Regions from separate parts of the Homo sapiens genome. Here all the other regions are linked to region 2. Evidence: promoter capture Hi-C in 16 types of primary human blood cells and fetal thymus (Javierre and others, 2016). All regions are on one chromosome and are shown on one strand. The core of a region is centred on a gene start or on the middle of the fragment in contact, and the rest is flanking DNA. Distances in the headings are between cores, read along the strand shown.

Region 1 (2,700 bases), core at 115-2,614, 170 kb before region 2:
AAGTAGGAGGAGAAAATACCTTGATCAGCAAACATTCTGAGCCAATTCATCCCTGCCCAAGGCCCTGTTTCCCTGCTGCCCTTAGGTTAGCAAAAACGTGAGCTTAGGGTCATAGGGTCAGGGTCTGAGAAAGACGGTGAGGGACAAGGGGAGACAGATAGGTAGATAGAGATAGATAGATAGATAGATAGATAGATAGATAGATAGATAGATAGATAGATAGAAAACAATGATTTACTTTTTCATTTCTTCCAGGGATCACTGAGCTGAGATGTCCTGAAAGGAAAAACTAACAGCACTGTCAGCCCCCTCCCAAGTGCCTAACCCTCAAGTATCCTTTTGGTTGTTTGCTGCCAGTCTATTTCTGTTGTGGTTCCAGCTCTGCAGGAAGCTGCTACCGGAGTCACCATGGGCCCACAGATCCCACTGACATGCCCAACAGAGCATTCTGGAGGCTCCAGTTGCTGCCACAGCTCTGGGGGCTGCTGTGGTCCTGGGTCATGAAGACTACAGAGTATCAGAGTTGGAGGAACCAGAGGACCAAGGACCTGCTCCCATCTGGAGCTTCTCTTCTTCTCTGCCATCTAGGGCTGAGCTACCAAAGTGTTTTCGGAAGGATCTGAACGGGCCCAGTAAGCTCATTCCCTTTGTTTTCCAGAGCTCTGTGTTTATTTCCAACTCATGCTTCTGTCCTTGACCTTGTGAAAGACTGCTCACCTCATTCCCACACTAATATACAACCCCCCTAAAAGGGTTTTGTGAGTTGAGGGGTGTATGACCCACTTGTGTCTGTTCCTAAGATAGGCCTATGTACCCAATGTGGGGCAGCCCCTGTAAGGCAAAGACGGGAACGCACTGGACAGAGCTTGCAACGAGAAAGCACAGCTTTATTCTTCACAGCACAGGGATATTAAAGAAGGAGGGAAAACACTAAGACCAGCAGGATAAATCCCCTGGGGGAGTACTTGAAACTCATCAAGGAACATCTCAGTAGGAAAGAGGAGACAGGAGCAAAGAAGCACCAGGCTAGGGCTGGTTCCAGTCATTTTGGCACTTTCTTTTCTCAAATATTTTTACTTAATCTCGTGGCTCAGGTCAGCAGCAGCCCGCAGAACTGTGGCCACAGCTGGAGCTCCCGCCTTGCTGACCACTTCCCCTGTCACAGGAGTTGGAGCTCTGGCAACGGCAACGGTGAGACCTGCGGCATCTGTGGTGACTCAGGCAGCAGCTGCGCTCGGAGCTGGGCCCACAGCCCCCAGAGCTTGGGGCACAGCTGGAGGAAGCTGGAGGCAGACACTGTGCTGGGCTCTTTGCAGGGCACTTGGGCGGAGGCTGGCACTGCTGCTGGTTCTGCTGGCAGGACATCTAGGCAGGAGGTCAGGGAGCCTGGGCAAAATAAAAGCAAAGCAAAATACGTGTCAATGCAGGTTTCAGGCCAGGGCCTCCTCATGCTTTGGTTTAATTGTGGATCCCTTCCCCTAAACTCAGTCTGCCCTCCAGCTAAGACCTGGGGAAGGGGAATGCAAACGGATCTGAAGTTAAACCGGCCTGATACTGCCCCTTCCTCCGGCCCTCTCCCCTGCCTGGGAGGCAGCTGACACTCCTGGGTGGGCCTCTGGGGCTCCTGCGCACGCCCTGCGGGGCCTGTCACACCTCCGGACCCGATGCGAACAGCTCCCCCTGCAGGCGTCCCGTGAACACAACGCCCATGACCCTCCAGGGTGGCGTCTCTCTGGACGCCTGTGAGCGCAGGGTGTGAGGAGGCAACGCATCTCTGCGCACATGAGGAAAAGGGGGTTCAGAGGTCGCAGCATCGCGGAGCCCCTGAAGTGGCTCGCAGACTTGTCTGTCTTCCTCACTATCCCGCCCATCTCCCATCCCAGTCCCAGCCGGCCACCCACCACAGCCTCTCTGCCGCCTCCACCGTGTCTGCCTCCTCCCCTCTCCTTGTTGAAGCACAGACGTGTTTGCGCAGCCCTTTCAGCCCAGGTCCTCTCGCCAGCTGGACGCTCACCTGGTTTGGTGGAGGCAGGAGAAGGTTCTTCCTGAGGTGATTGTGGACTGAGGAACCCAGGGCCTCAGCCCTTTTATCCTGGGTATTATGATGCACAGCCCAACTATGTGTCCTCCTTTGCTCCCCAAAGGGAGGGGAAGCACCACACACTCCCAAGGACCAGGCTTTCAGCATATTCTTAAGGCGCATATTTTGAGGAATGACAAAAGGGAAGCAGGAAATCTCGATGACGGTCCAATTATCCACCGTTCAGGCCCTCTGGCTGCTGTTCCACTTTTTTTTCTTCATTCAGCTCACATGCTCTGAAGCCAGGGTACGTCCTTTGTGGGGCCTGGTAATATGGGGACAAACAGAACACATTTCTCCCCTTGACTAGCTCACAGCTTTTCAGAAGGCCAGATGGACAACTGAGCAATTAAATCACATCCTATGTGCTAAGCGACGCAGCACAAGTGTGCACAAACATGGCAGGCTGGGGTCACTGCCTTTGGGTGTCAGTCCCCATTGCTTTGTGGATTCCTTTACATAGGTGATGGAATCAGCCCCTGTGTCCTGAGATGTTGGCTGCACTGAGCTCACTGGACCTGGGTTGAGTAAGGGGTGGAAGAATGGAGCTGGGGCCATGGCTTGAGAGGTAGTGTCTTCAGGGAATATCATGGCATCTTAAAGGTGGCATTGGGCACTGT
Region 2 (2,700 bases), core at 161-2,660:
CCTAGATATCATTCCCAAGTTCTGGGCATATCCAGAGTCTGTCAGGGGCTGGGAAGAAGAGGACTTGTCCCTCATATGGTTTAATCTGGCTTTTCTTGGTCTTCCTCTGAAGAAATAGTTTAATTTGTGGATAACCTTGCAGTCATGGCTGTCTTAGTGACTAGTGTGTCCTAGAATGAACAGCAGCCCATTTCATTAATATCCTAAAAATGTATAAATTCAGAACACTCCATTCATATAAATCCTGTGGACATGTAGAAAGCTAGTGATTCTAGTGGAGAGAGAGGAGAGGGGCTTCCAAAGTAGCAGCATAAACACATTCACATTAAATATTAAGGACTCTTGTTCTTAAAAGGCACCCGTCCCCTTATGGTCCAGGACGGGGTTCTGCCAGCCATTTGACCCCACATGGAAGCGTAGACTTATAATGTCTCACAACCATGTCTCTTTTCTTCCTGTTTCTCATCTGTGACCATCATCCGGTGCTCCCAGTGTGAACCCAGAAAAGTCCAAATTCTCACACCAATACAAAGAGCAGAGCTGCTGCTTCTTGTTTCTCTAATGAGCTGCTTCCTTGTTCACATCTCAGTGCTGACACATCAAGGACCCCACCAGAAGAAAAGGGCTATTTAAAAGCAAACAGATCACCAAACAGCCAGACTCACTCTCATTAGAAAAAAGCTGTGCTTCGTTTGTTAAACAAAGATCAGTATCTTCATTCTGTATTCAGCAAGTTATGAATGTTTCACTTATTCAGAGCCTACAATGTTTCAGTCTCTCTGTCAGGCACATTTTCTCTTTTTTGTGTTACTTTATTGACTTTCACAACCAACTAATTCTTCTGTAACTAATTCTTTTTCATCTTCCAGCTTTATGGTTTAAAAAATGGTACAGGCTAAATAGTTTCAACAGTCCCATCTCGCAGGGCCTGGTCCTGGGCCGGGTTATACTTCCAGGGTTTTACTTGTGTAGATGTCTACACTGCACCCACAGCCACACAGTTTGGTGGTGCACAGGGACAGAAATAAACATGCATGGAAACCTCAGGGATTAGTACTTCAACTTCAACCCAGGCTGCACGGAGCATCAGGTACTTCGGAAGAGACAGAAATGAGATAGGTCCTAAGTTCTAAGACTGAGAACTGAGAGGCTCTCAGGGCAAGCAGCCTTCAAGTGAATGAGGTAGGTGATGGTAGGAGTCATCCTGGAACCCCGTTTCAAGTAGGCACTTTCCTACCTGGGAGTGGCTGCCTTGAGCCTGGGGAGAGAGGCAGGTGAGGAGCTGTCAGTCACCAACCATCACAAGACCCACGTGGGTGTCAGAAGGAAGGTCCTCTCATGCCCAGGCCCTGTCTCACAGCTGGGGCAGAGCCCAGGCCAGGATAAAAGGGCTCAGGGCCAGACCACCCCATCCACTCACCTCCTGAGGTGCTAAAGAACCCTGTGCTGCCTGTGACTCCGGTAAGAACAGAGCAGGGATGCTCAGAACAGAGCAGGAGGGAAGGAGGGGCAGGGCCTCCGGGGCTAGGGCCATGTTGTCAGAGGTGGAGAGTTTAGAAAAGACTGAAGGGGCGGGGGCCAAAAGGGGTCTGGCACTAACTGGGAGCAGGAAGGAAAAGAGGAAAAGAGCTGGCGGGCTGTGCCATGTGCCTTTGAACTCTAGAGGAAACAAACTGCTCTGGGATGAGGTGGGTGTTCCAGAGTGGGAACTTTGAAGCACAGAGACCTGCTCCACTCTGGCAGCCCACAGGAGGGAAGCCCACCTCTGAAGATACAACCCTGTCTCTGCCTGCAAGGGAAGAACTGGAGCTGTGGACATGGGACTAAAGACTCTTTGGGGTTTATGAACCCCACATTTTCATGGGTCTGAGATTTGTTCACAAACTTCCCAGCTTGGTTAGGACACACCAAGCCTGAGACCCACCGTGTCATCCCATCAGCCTGAGCAGGTGGTGAGTGAGGAAGTCTGAGCTCCAACCTGAGATCAGGGGGTCAGGGTTCAAGTACTAGTCTGCAGAAACTGCTAAGTTTATCTGTCTCTATTGAAGTGAGTTTACTGACCTAGTAGTCTCCAAGATCCTGCACAATGCTGACCTTCCAAAGTAAAATCGTCTTGCAAATTATGACCAGAGAGAATGACTGCTTCTTCTCCTTTAAAAATAATTTTCTCTTAAATGACTCATAAATTAGACAATTTCAGTCTTAAGATATATTTGTAATAATTTCTTCCTCCACTGACAACACATCAGAATCTTAGATGCATTTTGCAATATTGTTTAGTCTTAGTTTACAGTTGTCTGACATCCAAAGATATCTTGAAAAAGATGATGTGAGATTTTGAGGAAATTATTGGAAATAAAACTACTGAAGATGATGCTTTTAAACTTGAGAGGTGCTAAGAGTGTCACAGGGGCAGAGGTGGCCTCTGCCTGGGTCTGACTTGTTATTTGACTCTCCCTCAGCTCCTGAACACCCACCACCGAGATGTCCTGCCAGCAGAGCCAGCAGCAGTGCCAGCCCCCTCCCAAGTGCACTCCCAAGTGCACTCCCAAGTGCCCCGCCCCTAAATGTCCCCCTAAGTGCCCTCCAGTCTCTTCCTGCTGCAGTGTCAGCTCCGGAGGCTGCTGTGGCTCCAGCTCTGGGGGCGGCTGTGGCTCCAACTCTGGGGGCTGCTGCAGCTCTGGGGGTGGTGGCTGCTGC
Region 3 (2,700 bases), core at 84-2,583, 210 kb after region 2:
GGTCAAACAAATGCTAGCAGAGAGGGAAGGACATGGGTGTGGAAGGGAGGGTAAGCCTCTTCTCCTTCATGAATTATCAGCTCACACCTCTTCTCAGCTCACACCAGGAGGCCTGGCACAGGACAGTGAATCATGCCCAAGAAACTGCCTTGTGGCTTCCTGCCTTCCTCCCTCCCTCCCTATCTTTCCTCTTTTCTTTTCTCTTTTCTTTTCTTTTCCTTTCCTTCCCCTCCCCTTCCTTTCTTCCTTCCTTTCTTTCTTTCTTTCCTTCTCTCTCTCTCTCTTTCTTTCTTTCTTTCCTTTCTTCTTTATCTATCTCTGTTTCTTTCTCACTTCCTTTCTCCCTTCCATGAACCTACAGCTCTATTCAGGAGAACAATGACTGTCCATTGACTTAACACCCATGATAACCAGGCACTGTGTGACGCTGAAGTAGAACAAGGGGCTTTCAGAACCTGGTGGAAGGAGCTGGGCATCAGGTTCAAGGGAGTAACACAGTCGTGGAACATTGGGAAAGGAGGAGCTATTCACATGCCTGAGATGTAAGGATGTCTGGATTTTCCAAGGGCCGCGTCTAGTAAGAGAGTGTGTATTGAGGGCAACTCTGAGTTAGTGACTTGAGGTTCATCCTGTAGTGATCAGAGGAAATGGCTGGTGTATGAACCTAGGGAATCAGCACGCTCCTCTTCCTATGTCACTCCTGGAGAAGAAAGATACCACAAGAGGCAGGGTCTTCAGGGCTGAGCCACAATGTCACACAGATCCAGTCAATCCTGCCTGTCCATCTCAATGACATCTACTATCCCTGATCAACACGGCACCTTAAGGCGCCCTTCACAGTGAAAGCAACTTATTTCCAAAGCAGGCATTTTGCCTTCCATTGCTCCTCCCAGGTCCAAATCCAGTAAGAGACTGAAAATCAGATGATTCACTTATTCTGCACCATCCCCATGGCCTCGCAGAACCAGAAATGCCTATTGTTATTTCCATGTCCACTTCAACCATGAGGAAGCCCAATAGGACTAATCTGGCTAAAGATTAGGGCCCAGGCCAAGAGGCCTGGCTCGTTCTAGTCCTAGGAGCATGGTACTTCCTCCTAATTTAATCCATTGCCATTCAAGAAGACCTTTGCCCACAGCAACCACACCACAAAGGGTGGACAGTGAGTCAGGCCCAGGTGACATCACTGTCAGAGCTTAAGTGACAAAAAATGTTAAGCCAGAGATACTTATCACAAAAGCTGGAATGAAGTTAGAGCAGTCTTTTAAAAAATCCAATTTTCTTAAGGCAGGGCTCATTTTCTATATAAATACCAGCTAACAAGAGACTCTTCACCAGATCCCAGAGGCTGAACACCTCGACCTTCTCTGCACAGCAGGTGAGTCTCCGCATTAGGAACACCTTAATATTCTCCAATAGTTTCTTTATTTTGATTGAGATCTCTTTGCTATGCAATGAATATATTTATTTTAAATGCAATAACGACTTTTGTTTAAGGTGACCTTATACATATTTTGACTTTCCACTCAGATTACAGGTGTGGAACTTAGGATCAGAAAAGGGGAGTGATTTCTGTAAAGGCTTGCTAAGTTAGCAAGACAATATACCCACTTCAAGAGCACTCTCCTGTCAACATGTATTGAAAATTTTTAATATAGAAGGCACTACATTGGCAATTTTGATGATCAAAAGATAAGTTTTTCTTTATTGCATGAATGTATAATCCATTAGAAAACATATACTTGACTAAAATTTGCAAACATACAGCATGGGGAGTGATTAGCAGAGAGGGAAAGCAAGTATCATGCTGTGGCAAAACGAGGAAGGTGAGAGCATCAGGAAGGACAGCCATGAGAGGTGGGCATGTGTGGGGAGGCAGCGATGATGTGGAGAGCCTGCCAGAGAGCATGTGCAGCAGGCACAGTGTGAACAGAGGCTCCCAGGTGGATTGTGGGAGCCTTAGGGGGAAGTTTAGATAAGAGTTCTCCTGGGAGAACTATCGCACTCTATAAGGAGGACATGAGTGAGTAGATTCTAGACTGCTGACCTTAAAATCTTTCCAACTTATGGAAAAACTGAGGTGTCACATCAATCTTCAGCCAATGACACACAGCCAAGAGTGGTATTAAAAGTGATTTAATCAGGGAAGAGCAAGAAACATGCATTTCTTTTCACTCAATTCCTCAGATGATCCCTGAGCAGCTGAAGACCAGAAAAGCCACTAAGACTTTCTGCTTAATTCAGGAGCTTAGAGGATTCTTCAAAGAGTGTGTAAGCGAAAGCTTCAGAGTATATATTTGCATATTTGTATGTGTTTTCATGTTGTACGTAGGTTTTTAGATGTACCAGGAAGAAAAGAAGCATAAAGAAAGGCTCCATTTACACGATGTGGAAGAAATCAACTTTACCTTATTCTCTGGAAGATAAGTGGGGATCACCAAAGCATCCCATGATCTCAAATTCAGGGAAAAAGAAAGAAAAGAGAGGCTCTCAGTTCTGAAGGAGAATGAAATGACAGATATTTGTCATTAAACTGGGCTTCATTCCTACTTAATCAAAGCACTGAATTAGCTGTTTTGTCTCTAGGTCCAGCATCCTTTGAAGCATGAGTTCTTACCAGCAGAAGCAGACCTTTACCCCACCACCTCAGCTTCAACAGCAGCAGGTGAAACAACCCAGCCAGCCTCCACCTCAGGAAAT

The links. The method cuts DNA at HindIII sites, captures the fragments that hold promoters and counts their contacts. A CHiCAGO score of 5 or more calls a contact.
Region 1: the fragment with the promoter of LCE3A here is called in contact with the fragment with the promoter of LCE1D in region 2 in 6 of 17 cell types (M2 macrophages, total CD4 T cells, fetal thymus and 3 more); the score reaches 12.7 in M2 macrophages.
Region 3: the fragment with the promoter of SPRR3 here is called in contact with the fragment with the promoter of LCE1D in region 2 in 4 of 17 cell types (erythroblasts, total CD4 T cells, M1 macrophages and 1 more); the score reaches 10.9 in erythroblasts.

The regions. Positions count from the first base shown.
Region 1 is chr1:152,621,739-152,624,438 of GRCh38, forward strand. It overlaps LCE3A (late cornified envelope 3A), which reads right to left and starts at 1,365. Exons shown (of 1, transcript NM_178431.1): 1 at 1,096-1,365. The coding sequence starts at 1,365. The coding sequence ends at 1,096. The HindIII fragment of the contact is 6,916 bases long and covers 1-2,700 here.
Region 2 is chr1:152,795,311-152,798,010 of GRCh38, forward strand. It overlaps LCE1D (late cornified envelope 1D), which reads left to right and starts at 1,411. Exons shown (of 2, transcript NM_178352.3): 1 at 1,411-1,461; 2 at 2,463-2,700. The coding sequence starts at 2,485. The HindIII fragment of the contact is 8,213 bases long and covers 1-2,700 here.
Region 3 is chr1:153,000,416-153,003,115 of GRCh38, forward strand. SPRR3 (small proline rich protein 3) reads left to right here and starts at 1,334. Exons shown (of 2, transcript NM_001097589.2): 1 at 1,334-1,378; 2 at 2,587-2,700. The coding sequence starts at 2,606. The HindIII fragment of the contact is 2,627 bases long and covers 1-2,280 here.